Linked DNA regions of Homo sapiens: regions 1 and 2 are each linked to region 3. The links are contacts of gene promoters, found by promoter capture Hi-C in human tissues and cell types (Jung and others, 2019). All regions are on one chromosome and are shown on one strand. Each heading gives the region's core, a stretch centred on a gene start or on the middle of the fragment in contact. The rest is flanking DNA. Distances are from core to core; before and after follow the strand shown. Region 1 overlaps FAM193A (family with sequence similarity 193 member A). Region 2 overlaps FAM193A (family with sequence similarity 193 member A). Region 3 holds the start of HAUS3 (HAUS augmin like complex subunit 3).

Region 1 (3,876 bases), core at 1,134-3,633, 390 kb after region 3:
AGAGGAAGCTTCTCACGCATGTGTGCCGACCTCGCTGTCACACCCCCACACACTGTGATAGGCCCCTCTTCTCTACGGGAGAGGACCTGTTTCCTCTCCTCTTTGTCTTTCCTCTGGACTTTGCCACTGGATAAAAGCATTGGGTGGATTGATAAGCAGGTGACACCTCATGGTAGTACTGTTTGGAGGACCTTGAGGCCCAGGGAACGAGGCATGGGGGCAGTGTGAGGGGAGCACTGATGTGTGCCTTTATAAGGAGACAGAGAAATCTCCGGTGTCTTACTTAGGTTGTTCATTCTTTCGTTGCTGTAGACAGAGCTGGTATTAGGTGAAATGCCCATGAAGAGCATGAAGGCTGTAGAGAACAGCTTGTTTACCGCCCAGTGGCGTTCATTCATTCATGCAGGCATGCATGCACTCAGCAAGCCAGCACTGAGTTAAGGATCTGCTTGCAGTCTCAAGACAGGCCCTATCACCATCCTTGCCAATGGGGATCTGACAGTCCTAACAAAAGAGACACACAGATGGGTCCGGTTGCCTCAAAAGAGGAATCACTACATTGGGTGGAAGGAGCATGGTATAGAAATATGGTTACAAGTAGGCTGCGGTCAATCCTCAACAGCCTCAGTGCCCCCACGCTTTGGAAGGAGACCAGAGACAAGCCCTCAAAGCTTCCTTGACTGTTACTAATAGTCTATGGAGTTTTTCATCACTTAAACTTTATTATTAAATAATACTTAACTGTATTTGGGTGCTAGTTTTGGGTGCTTTCTTTCTTTTAATAAAGAAAAGGAATTTATTTCTCATGGTTAGGAAGGCTGAGAAGTCTAAGTTTGAGGGGCCACATCTGGTGAGAGCTTTCTTGCAGGTGGGGACTTGGACTCTGAACAGAGTCCAAAGGTGGTACAGGGCATCACATGGCGAGAGGGCTGAGCATCAGTTTTGGGTGCTTTCTTAGTGGTAAACCTACATTTTGAAACAAATACAGTAAGCATTGGCCTTGGTCTTTATCTGATTCTCAAGTTGATGGACCCTCTTAGAAAAATTTACATACAGCCCGGGTGTGGTGGCTCATACCTGTAATCCTCGCACTTTGGGAAGCCAAAGTGGGAGGATCACTTGAGCCCAGGAGCTTGAGACTAGCCTAGGCAACATGGGGAGACCCCACCTATACCAAAAAAATTTAAAATTAAATTAACCAGGCGTGATGACGCATGCTACTCAAGAGGCTGTGAGGCAAGAGGATCATTTGAGCTCAGGGTTGAGGCTGTGGTGAGCCAGTGTACTCCAGCTTGGGAATAGAGTGAGATCCTATCTCAAAAAGAAAAGAAAAAATTACATACATGTAATTGTAAGTCATTTCAGGGGGTTCACAGACTTCCTCAAGCTTCACTGCGCCAAGCCATGGGGAGGTATCTATTCTGAGAAGAGGTAGCGAGGTGAATGGGTAGGGTGAGGGGTGGGGGTGGGGCAGGGGGGCAGTTATCCTGTTTCAAGGTCTGAGTCCACTGGGTAGTGCCACCAGGCTTCCTTCTGGTACCTCGTCCTTCCTCTGGCATCTCTCGCAGCACAGCCTCCCCGTCTCTACCTGAGAGTCTGCCTGCCCTTCAGAGGTTCAAATCCAGAGCCCCTCCTCTGTCTTCTACAAGAACACTGGCTCAGGTTAAGAAGGATGCTCTCCAGCCCACCTAAACCTGGTGCCCAGAGAGACTCTGGTAGTGAAGACAGCAGCTGTTGCTGCTCTCCAGAAAATGCTGGCGAGGTCTGCACCTCCTCAGATAGTTACTGTAGGATACTGTTTTATGAAGCTGACAAAAATTAATTTGAACCATATTTATTAGAGCAAATTCCTAGCAGTTGACATAGAAATAATTTCTTGTGGCTTGAGGCCGGGTGCGGTGGCTCACGCCTGTAATTCCAGCACTTTGGGAGGCCGAGGCAGGCAGATCACCTGAGGTCAGGAGTTCAAGACCAGCCTGGCCAATATGATGAAACCCCGTCTCTACTAAAAATAACAAAAATTAGCCGGGCATGGTGGCGGGCGCCTGTAGTCCCAGCTACTCGGGAGGCTGAGGCAGGAGAATCACTTGAACCCGGGAGGCAGAGGTTGCATTGAGCCAAGATTGTGCCAGTGCACTCCAGTCTGGGCAACAGAGCGAGACTCTGTCTCACACACAAAACAAAACAAAATAAAAAAGAAATAATTTCTTGTGGCTTGAAAAAAATGCATACACCCAGAAGCTGTTTGATTAGTGTCTTTTTTCACTTCCTTTACACATAGAAATACCCACATTGATTTCTAGGGGTCCAGCAGACTAGATACCCTTAACTATTCCTTCCTCCAAGGGAAACAACTGAATTTACTAGATAATAAAAAAATAAGCCAGGCGTGGTGGCTTACGGCTATAATCCCAGCACTTTGGGAGGCCGAGGTGGTTGGATCACCTGAGGTCAGGAGTTAGAGACCAGCCTGGCCAACGTGATGAAACCCCGTCTCTACTAAAAATGCAAAAAATTAGCCTGGCGTGGTGGCACGCGCCTATAATCCCAGCTACTTGGGAGGCTGAGGCAGGAGAATTGCTTGAACCTGGGAGGTGGAGGTTGCAGTGAGCCGAGATGGGGCCGCTGCACTCCAGCCTGGGCAACAAGAGCAAAACTCCGTCTCAAAAAAAAGATGAAATCTTTTAAAGTGTATGGCTGAGATGGCATGAAAGGGAGTAAGTCGTAGTGGTGAAAAACCAATTGAAAGCTGGAATCCTGAGAAATACATGGGCTTGAAAGTCAGCATTTGCTGTGGGTATTTCTTCTGATCCTGGGAGACAAGAGACAACCTAGCCCAGGATGGGGTCTGCACATAATGCTGGGACTGTAAGTGACGACACTAGTAAGGTTGAAGTGGAAACTCCGAGCACCGAAAGGGACAGCAGGGATCTGCAGCTCTCGTGGCCTTGGGGTGGAGATGCAGGGAGTACAGCTTCCCAGAGACTTGGTAGCTGTCAGCCAGCTGCCACATGAGCTGGAGTGTGAATAAATGTTGGTGTGGTATGAACAGCCCAAGCCTGGAAGTTACTTTACAGTGGTCCAGGATTGCTGGTAAAGTCAGGCAGCATGCAGATCACCTCTGGAAACCTTCAATCTGACCTCAGAGAATTCGAATAGATAAAATCCCCCCAAATGAGCAGCTCACAGTAAAAAAAGTCATAAAACACAAGGTTCATGACAGCACAGTTAAAAGCCAGCAGAAGCAGTAGACAGAATCACATAACAAAGATATTTAAATTTTCAAAAAAGAATATAGAGTAACTTTGTTAACTGTGCTTAAAGAAGCTTTGTAAAAGTTTGAAATTGGGAGTTAAGGATTAATACTCTAAAGAATGATAATTCAGATTTGAAAAAATATCAAAACTAGAAACAAAAACTTTTTTTAGAGATGATAGCTGAGAAATTCTCAGAATTACTGAAAAATACTAGTGTTCAGCAAGGAAACGTATCAGATTTCCCAAGTAAGATGTTGAAAAATCCTTCTCTGGTTATAGTATAATGACAGCTACAGAACATCAAAGAAAAAGTGATCTCAAACACAAAACACAGGACTTTGTTGAAAATGGTCTGTGAGATGTTATAATGTGTAATTCTGGATTCTGGGTAGAGACTACAATGAATCTATGTACTCCTTACCCAGATGCGCAGTTAATCAGCATTTTGCCACTCTGACTTCATTATGCCTTCTTTTTCTTCCACTTTCTCTTCCCTCTTTTTGATGCAGTATTTTAGTATGGGTCCCAGACAATGTGCTTTTTGTCTTAGAATATTCCAATAAGTGTCTCTAAAAATAGTCATCCATTATCTTCTGTAGCCACAGTTCCATTGTCACAT
Region 2 (4,067 bases), core at 1,170-3,669, 410 kb after region 3:
ATCATGGTGGAAGGTGAAGGGGAAGCCAGCACATCTTACGTGGCTGGAGTAGGAGGAAGGGGGGTGGGGAGGTGCTACACACTTTTAAACAACCAGATCTTCTGAGCACTCGCTATCACGAGAACAGCACCTTCGGGGAAATCTGCCCCCATGATCTGATCACCTCCCACCAGGCCCCATCTCCAACAATGGGGATTACAGTTTGACATGAGATTTGGGCGGGGACACAAATCTAAGCCATATCACCTGGCTTTCCCTTCATGTATCGATATAAGTTTCTGAGGTTGTGAATAACTTGTAACCTTCAGGTGACTTCAGAAAAATAGTATAGTTAGTGATAACATAGGGAAAAAGATGAAAGAGAAGGAAGATGAACCGTTACCGAGTGCTGTGCCAAACCCCGTGTGGCTAGAGCCTCACTACTGCTTCCTGGTGTTACCACATCTGCAGATGACAGGAGGCTCCCGAGGGTCTCAGCCAGGCAGGCCTGTTGGGGTTTAGGTCAGCGGTGTCCTACGTAGCATAACATCCTGCCCCTAAGAGCCTGGGGTGCTGTCCTTAGTTCCACATGTGATGGAAATGGCAGATAAAGTTCTAGTTTCAGAGATTCATTTCTCCAATTGAACTGTAACTAAACACAAAAATGCCCTTAGGGAAATTCTTTTACTAAGACTGAAAAATCCTTTGGGAATAGTAATTTCTTCAGGTATCTGTTTCTTGAAGGTAAACATTTATTTTGAAATATTATATATGGTATTATTGCTGTTGTTCTAGGGAAAATGGTATATATGTAAAAATAACACATACATGTTCTCTCTAGGGAGAAAATAACAGTGTCACTTAAAAAGTAAAGTGTATTTCTTTAAAATTGCATGTTACATTGCTTTTACAAAGAGAAAACCAGTCTCTTCACTAAAGCAACCAGAAGATGCTTTTTATTTTTATTTATTTTTTTTTAGACAGAGTCTCTCTCTGTCACCAGGCTGGAGTGCAGTGGTGTGATCTTGGCTCACTGCAACCTCTGCCTCCTGGGTTCAAGCAATTCTCCTGCCTCAGCCTCCCGAGTAGTAGGGACTACAGGCGCCCGCCACCACGCCCGGCTAATTTTTGTATTTGTAGTAGAGACAAGGTTTCACCCTGTTGGCCAGGATGGTCTAGATCTCTTGACCTCATCATCCACCCACCTCAGCCTCCCAAAGTGCTGGGATTACAGGCGTGAGCCACCATGCCCAGCCAGGAGATGCATTTTTATTTTCACTGTCTTGTGAAGAAACCATGAGAAACAATCTGCCACTAATACAATTGAGGGAAATTGAGCCACTTTAGTAACATCCAGAGAATAATAGTCATTCTGGAACCATGTATGCATGGGTGGGAGGTTGTGGGGAGCTGAAAACAACAGAAATTTATGCTCACAGTTCTTGAGGCCAGAAGTTCAGAATCAGTATGTCAGCAGGGCTATGTTCCCCTGAAGGCTTTGGGGGCAACTGCAGTGACCCCTGGAGTTCTTGGTTTGTGGCCACTCCACTCTCCACTGGAGCTGTTTTAATGCACTATTTAATTTAAAACCTTTGAATGAACATTGGTTGCTTCTAATCAATAACATTTTAGAAATTTTATACTGATTCAAAGGCTTTAAAATGTTGAATACGTGTAAAATAATTGAGTCTCTGTTCACAAATAAGTATGTATGTATGTGGCAAGAGAGTTGGTAGGTTTTGTTTGTTTGTTTGAGATGGAGTCTTACTCTCTCAACTAGGCGGTGGTGTCATCTCAGCTCACTGCAACCTCTGCCTGCTGGGCTCAAGCAGCCCTCCCACCTCAGCCTCCAGAGTAGCTGGGATCACAGCGCACACCACCATGCCTGGCTAATTTTTTTTTTTTTTTTTTTTTTTGTATTTTTGGTAGAGACGGGGTTTCACCGTGTTGCCCAGGCTGGAAGTTTGAAATCAATTATTTTTATGTTTGCTGTCTGAAATTCATTCTTTCTCTGTTGTTTGACACATACATAAGCCTGCAGGTACCCAAATTTGTTCCAAAAAAAAAAAAATTTCCCTGAGGCTGTGAGGAGAGAGTCAAGGAAGAGGTTTTTATTGATGTTATTTATCAAACAACTCTTACACTGTACACTAAGATTTTATAATAACTGCAGACATATACAATGAAAAGGGAGAATTGGCACCAATATTGAATCTTCCCATCCAAGAATATGGTATGTCACTCTTTTTTAAGGTTTTTAAAAATATATTGTATTATGGTTTTATAGTTTGTAAATCTTGACCCATTTTGTGCCTCCATAGTCTGTAGTTTGAGGGGCTGCTATGACCGGCATCTTGAGTGGGGAATGTGTGTTTAAAGCATTCATGCTGGAAACTGGGAAAATGGAGATGCCCTGTGACCAGTCATCTCGCCAGATGCCGGCATTAACTCTTGTAGTTTTTGAGTTGAGTCTTGAATCTGGGAGTCTAGGAAATCACGGTATCTTCTACAAATAATGATAGGTTTATCTCATCTTTTCCAGCATTTGTCCCCTTTTTTTGGCTTCCACTAGGACCTTCAGACCAGTGTGAATAAGAGCATTGATACTGGCACCCTTGTCCAGTCCTGGCTTCGAGGGGCTGCTGTGAGTGTTTCACCATGAAGTTTGATGCTTGCCATACAGACTTTTGATACTTTCTAGCAAATTAAAGAAGTTTACCTTTATTTCTAGTTGATTTAGGCTATCATTTAAAAAATAAAACAGGAAGATGTCAAAATTGATGGTATGATTTTTCTTATATCAATTTCTGTATGAGTTAAGAGTTTAGGTTACCTAATTTTGAGACATTCTTGCGTTCCTGGGATGAAACCCTAGTAGATCATGATATGTCATTCTTTATTCCATTATTAAATTTATTAGCTGATATTTGATTTAGGACGTGTGTGTGTGTGCGTGTGCGCCTGTGTGTGTGTGTGTGTGTATTCGGACAGCTATATAAAATTATTTTTAGAGACAGGGTTTCACACTGCTGGCCAGGCTGGAGTGCAATGACAAGATATTAGTTCTCTGCAGCCTCGAACTCCTGGGCTCAAGCTCTCCTCCCACTTCAGCCTCCTGAGTAGCTAGGACCATAGGCACATGCCAGTGTGCCAGCTAAGTTTTGGCTTGGTGCAGTGGCTCACAGCTGTAATCCCAGCACTTTGGGAGGCCAAAGCAGAAGGATCGCTTGAGCCCAGGAGTTTGAGGCCAACCTGGGCAACATAGGGAGAACCCCATCTCTACAAGGAAAAAAAAATTAGCCAGGTGTGGTGGTGTGTGCCTGTGGTCCTAGCTACTTGGGAGGCTGAGGTGGGAGGATCATAGGCCCAGGAGGTTGAGGCTACAGTAAGTTGTGATCATACCACTGTAGTCCAGCCTTGGTGACAGAGCAAGAGACCTTGTCTCAAAGATAATTTTATTTACAAACAAATGAAATTTTTTGTAGCGGTGGGGGTCTTGCCTTGTTACCTAGACTGTTCTCAAATTCCTGGCCTCAAGTGATCCTCCTGCTTTGGCCTACCAAAGTGCTGGGATTACAGGTGTGAGCCACTGCATCCAGCCAGGACTTTTATATCTATATTCTGAGGTATAATTGAGTTGTCTTGGTCTTTGAGGTCTTACTTGTTTTGTATAAAGGTTGTGCTAGCTTCATAGAATGAATTGAGAAACTCTGTGTTTTTGCAATTTTCAGGAATAGTTTAAATTTTCTGTCCCATGAAGGGTTTGATAGAACCTACCGTAAAACTTTGGGGCCTAATTCATTTTTACAGGGAAGAAGAACAAGAACTATAGATCTTGTCTGCCTTTTTCATTTATATGACATTTATTAGTGTATTTCAGGTTTCCTTCTCCCTCGAGTCAGTTTTACAAATAGAATTTGGCTCAAGAAGTTATCCATATCGTTTAGTAAAGGGTTGTAAACTCACACCTGCAGGGCTAGGGAAAGTCACGGAAATGGATGATACAGGGTAGAGCGGCCCCAGCGTTCCTGTGGTGCTCATGGCCGTCACCACCCTCACCTTGAAAGTGCCCTCAGTTGGGATAGGCC
Region 3 (4,385 bases), core at 75-2,574:
CTGTTCATTCACATTCCCACAAAACCACTTCAGAAACGATTCATCTTCAACGCCCTCAAACAACCAGTCAAAGTCTTCTCCATTAAGATTATCAGCTTTGGGATAACCAATTTTTTTTAATGTTTCCACAAACTCATTTCCACAACTCATGGTTTTAACTACCCCAATTTTGTTGTATCTGATATGGGTTTACGGTGTTGATTTTTAGAAAATAAATCCAAGCAGAAAAAAAGCTACGTTTTATACCAAGTCCACAGAGAAGGGAAAATATATTTTTAGAATCTATAATGATTCCTCCTAGGGGGGAAGAAAACAAGTATTAGACCACAAATATGACGACAGTGTTTTTAAAAAGAAGACACAGACAAATATCACATGATATCCGAGAGCGGGATAAATGACAGGTAGTCGTAGCTGCAATGTTTGATGATGATAAAGAGAAACAGAAACAATTAGGCTAGTTCTCAGAAAACCGCAACAGTAACGAAAAGTAATTAACAAGAAAGTGGATCTATTTGGATCCATTTTATCTTTTTTTCCAAAGATAAAATGGTTTAAAATGCATTACACTTTATAGAGCAGCATTTGTTTTTAATTCAAAATAAATGGATCCAAACAAACCCAAGCCACCAGGAGGCTAGGCAGCCTCTCTTCCCTGCCCTCCGTACGTAAGAAGACGCAAATAAGCATGGCACATCTTCTGAAGATCAACTAAATATTTACCTCAACGTCTCGCCGGGCAAGGCTCCACCTCCAGAGTCCACCACCGCGACGCGGAGAACAGCAGGAGCAGCAGGGAAGCGCGCGGCCACAATTAAGGGTGCTTCGGGCCGGCCTTCAGCCAGCGCTGAGGCAGCCCCGACGCCAGGGCCGCGCGAACCCCAGAGGCAGCGGCAAGCCCCAGGGATCCGCGGCCCCAAGGCCGCGATACACCAGACGCGCCAGCGGCAAAACCTTCCTTCGGAGGGTCACCCAGCTGTGACACCTAAGCACGCTGACAAAACAAACGCACAAGCCCACCGAATCGCCGTCGACACCGAGCTGCAGAAGACGGGGGTGACAGGCCCCGCACAGCCCCCGCCCCAGCTCCTCGCCCAGCGGACCGGGCCCTGATCCCCGGGCAGCTGCTGGAGCACCTGGAAGGAGCCCCCAGGAGCGCAGGAAAAAAAAGAGGCACCTGGGTGCAGACGGGGATCGCGGCCACTCCTCCAGCCCCACACCCCTGCGCCCAGAACCGAGGCCCGCGTCAGTCACCTCAGGAAGTTCCGCTTGCTTCTCGCAGGAGCCCGCCGCCACCGCCCTCCGTGCCCCGCGCGCCTCGCACTGCCTCACGGGAGCGCCTGGACGCGCGCAAGCGCACAAGGCGACGGCGTGGTCGTGGGGGATGACTGTTTGCGCAGGCGTAGTGTCAAAAGAGGCGGAGTCGGCGAGGCTGGACTATGGGGTGGAGCTGAGCAGGCGGCGCTCGGCCCCCGGCCGCTGCGGGCATCCTGCCTCCTGGGCGGGGCGCAGGGCAGAGAGAGGCGGGGTCTGGGCCGGGAAGGGCGGGGACAGGGCCTGGACAGGGGCGGGGCCTGGGCAGGGGGCGGAGCCTGGGCAATGAATGGGGTGCAGAGGGGTGCAGAGGGGTGCGGTGGGGCGCCCTCTGGGGAGCTGAAGCTGCGGGCCTGCTCTCAACGGAGCCGTCAGTTGTGCTTCAGGCCTGCCCTGCCCCGTACTTCAATCTAGACCCTCTGAAGGCACTTTTGAATGGTACAAAGAGCAGCGCAGGTTGGTGGTTGGGAGACAGGCTGGAGCCCGGCGGTGATAGCGCTCGCCCCCGAGAGAGACGAGTTCCCGGAACATTCACAGCAGCCCGACCAATGCCTGGTACATTTTAAGGGTTAGGGATTGTTCGCTTAGAGTCTTTTACAATGAACTTTATTTTGCAAAAACACTTAATTTCTAATCCCTCACCAGAACACTATGTAAAAGCTGACTTCTGGCCGGGCGCGGTGGCTCATGCCTGTAATCCCAGCACTTTGGGAGGCCGGGGGGGGGGGGGGGGGGGATCATGAGGTCAGGAGTTCGAGACCAGCCTGGCCAAGATGGTGAAACCCCATCTCTACTAAAAAATACAAAAATTAGCCGGGCGCGGTGGTGGGCGCCTGTAATCCCAGCGACTCGGGAGGCTGAGGCAGGAGAATCGTTTGAACCCAGGAGGTGGAGGTTGCAGTGAGCCGAGATCACGCCACTGCACTCTAGCCTGGGCGACAGAGCAAGACTCCGTCTCAAAAAAAAAAAAAAAAAAAAAGCTGACTTCCTCCACAATTCCCTTTTCAAAATGTTAGAAATAAACGGAATGGCCTGAGTTAAATACATCGATATATTTAACTCAAGGAGGATGGTACACCATTTCCAAAGAGGATGGCAGTCAGTGAAAGATGACTGAAACGGGATTGCTAAATTTCATGTGAATCTGGCTGATGCCCTACAGCCCAGTGAAACCAGACCTCTCTATTGGACAGAATTCGTTTGCATCTCTACCAAACAAAAATCCTTTGCCACTCCTCAGTCTTCCACAGGTTAGCAGGGGCTTTGGTCATGGGTAAATATAATAGTACTCCCTCCCTTCAGCGTCAAATGACCCTAAAGGTGGCTTGTTAGACAATGTCCTAGTCCAGGGTGACTAGGTAGAAGTCGTTTGGATAGTTTTTCTTAATATTTTTAAGGAGAGAAATAAGAATGTTCTAAGGCAAATATTGTAATCTGATCGAGTCAAAGATATTTCCTATTCATTCTTCACTTGTTTCACGTTTTTTTCCTCCTCTTTTAAAAGTCAATAAGGCCTAAAATGATCTGAAAAACAAACATGATGGGAAAAAATTCAAAGAGTGGTGCCCAATCTGCAGGCAAGGAAACCAGGGATGCTGGAACGGGGAGGCCTGGTGGGAGGACCCTTGCAGCCCAGGGTTGGAGGTTGGGGGTGTGCATCAGGGGGCAGAGTTGAGCCAGTTTGGACAGGAGGAAGTGGGAGCTGTGCAGGCAATGCCTTCCAGAAATGTTGCTGATGAGGCAAAGACTGGGTGGGAGGAGTGTGACACAGAGAGAGAGATACAGAGAGACAGAGAGAGACAGAAACAGAGAGACAGAGACAGAGAGACAGAGACAGAGACAGAGAGACACAGAGAGACAGAGACAGAGAGACAGAGACACAGAGACAGAGACAGAGAGACAGAGACACAGAGAGACAGATAGAGACAGAGACAGACAGAGAGACAGAGACAGACAGAGACACAGAGAGAGAGAGAGAGGAGAAAGACAGAGAGCGAGCATGCAAAACAACACAAGCTGAGGGGGTGGGAATGCAGGGCTGAGGGGAGGATTTTTTATTTTGTTTTGTTTGAAAATGAGAGGAACTCGGGGATATTTATAGACTGCAAGGAGGAACTCTGAGGAGACAGCATTAAAGACGGCAGAAAGACAAGGGGCTCCTTTATAGAAAGAGATCCCTGGAGGGCAGGAGGGGTGCACTCCAGAGCCCTGGAGGCCGTTCTAGAAACCCACTTTCCTAGTGACTCCTGGGTGGTTTCTTGGGCCACAAATTAATTCTCCATCTGATTTTGAATTGCTGACCATAGTTATTTGTTGGAAAGGTGTTTATGAGACCATAAAAGCCATAAAACCATTAAGTAAAAATTACAACAGTATCAGCCCCTGGAGTACAAATGACAAACACAATAGGTTTAACTATACAGATGTGGAAAGTTTTCTTCAGCTTGCCTTGGGAATTTAAGAAAGCAAGTATGTTACGTGTATTTCCAGGGTAAGCTTTCTTTTCAGCAGTCAAAATTATTTGGAGTTTTAGTAAGGTCAAAAGATAAATGGAACCCAGGAATTAATCCTCCCTGAAAAAGCCCATGAGAATATAATGGACTAAACAGACCTAAAGACAGAGCTGTGAGGATCAAGTGTTTTTGCTGTTTGCTTTTTCTCCTTCCTGTGGAAGCGATTTTCTCCTATTAGTATTAAAAAATATTTTAGGTTTTGGACAGTATCTTTTCTGACTGTTTTTAAACTTTAGAAGTAACAGTCAGATGCTAAAGATTATTTCTTTTAGATGTAGTTTTCCATGAATTTTGTGGGACTCTATTCTGCAAGCAATGGAGAATGGGGGCTGTTTTCAAGCAGGAGAGTGAATTCTCAGATGTGTGTTAGAAGCATAATTCTGCAAGATGAAAAATGACAAAAGGTGGTAAGAGACAAGATACAGGACCACTCTTGCAGCATGTAGGAGAGGAGGAGAGAGCTGGACAGAGAGAGCTGCAGGAGCTGGCAAAGCCTGGGGCCTGATGACTAGCCTGGGTCCGAGACACTCCGGGGTTTCCAGCTGAGTAGGGAGTGGC

Evidence for each region. Contacts are between HindIII fragments. The study calls those that stand out against the background at their distance.
Region 1: a contact is called between a fragment that was not itself captured here and the fragment with the promoter of HAUS3 in region 3, in 1 of the 25 tissues and cell types used here (heart left ventricle).
Region 2: a contact is called between a fragment that was not itself captured here and the fragment with the promoter of HAUS3 in region 3, in 3 of the 25 tissues and cell types used here (IMR-90 fibroblasts, dorsolateral prefrontal cortex and hippocampus).

Annotation. Positions count from the first base shown.
Region 1 is chr4:2,631,229-2,635,104 of GRCh38, forward strand. The region is part of intron 5 of FAM193A (family with sequence similarity 193 member A); the gene reads left to right. Among named protein-coding and RNA genes, the nearest start is that of FAM193A, 97 kb to the left of the region's middle. RefSeq lists an enhancer at 1-265. The HindIII fragment of the contact is 4,088 bases long and covers 340-3,876 here.
Region 2 is chr4:2,652,507-2,656,573 of GRCh38, forward strand. All of the region lies in intron 7 of FAM193A (family with sequence similarity 193 member A), which reads left to right. Among named protein-coding and RNA genes, the nearest start is that of TNIP2, 100 kb to the right of the region's middle. The HindIII fragment of the contact is 5,301 bases long and covers 1-4,067 here.
Region 3 is chr4:2,240,797-2,245,181 of GRCh38, forward strand. HAUS3 (HAUS augmin like complex subunit 3) reads right to left here and starts at 1,325. Exons shown (of 6, transcript NM_001303143.2): 1 at 1,255-1,325; 2 at 724-994; 3 at 1-297. The coding sequence starts at 150. It overlaps POLN (DNA polymerase nu), which reads right to left and starts at 1,325. Exons shown (of 26, transcript NM_181808.4): 1 at 1,255-1,325; 2 at 724-994. It also overlaps the pseudogene COX6B1P5. RefSeq lists enhancers at 508-1,009, 616-715 and a silencer at 1,396-1,755. The HindIII fragment of the contact is 17,295 bases long and covers 1-4,385 here.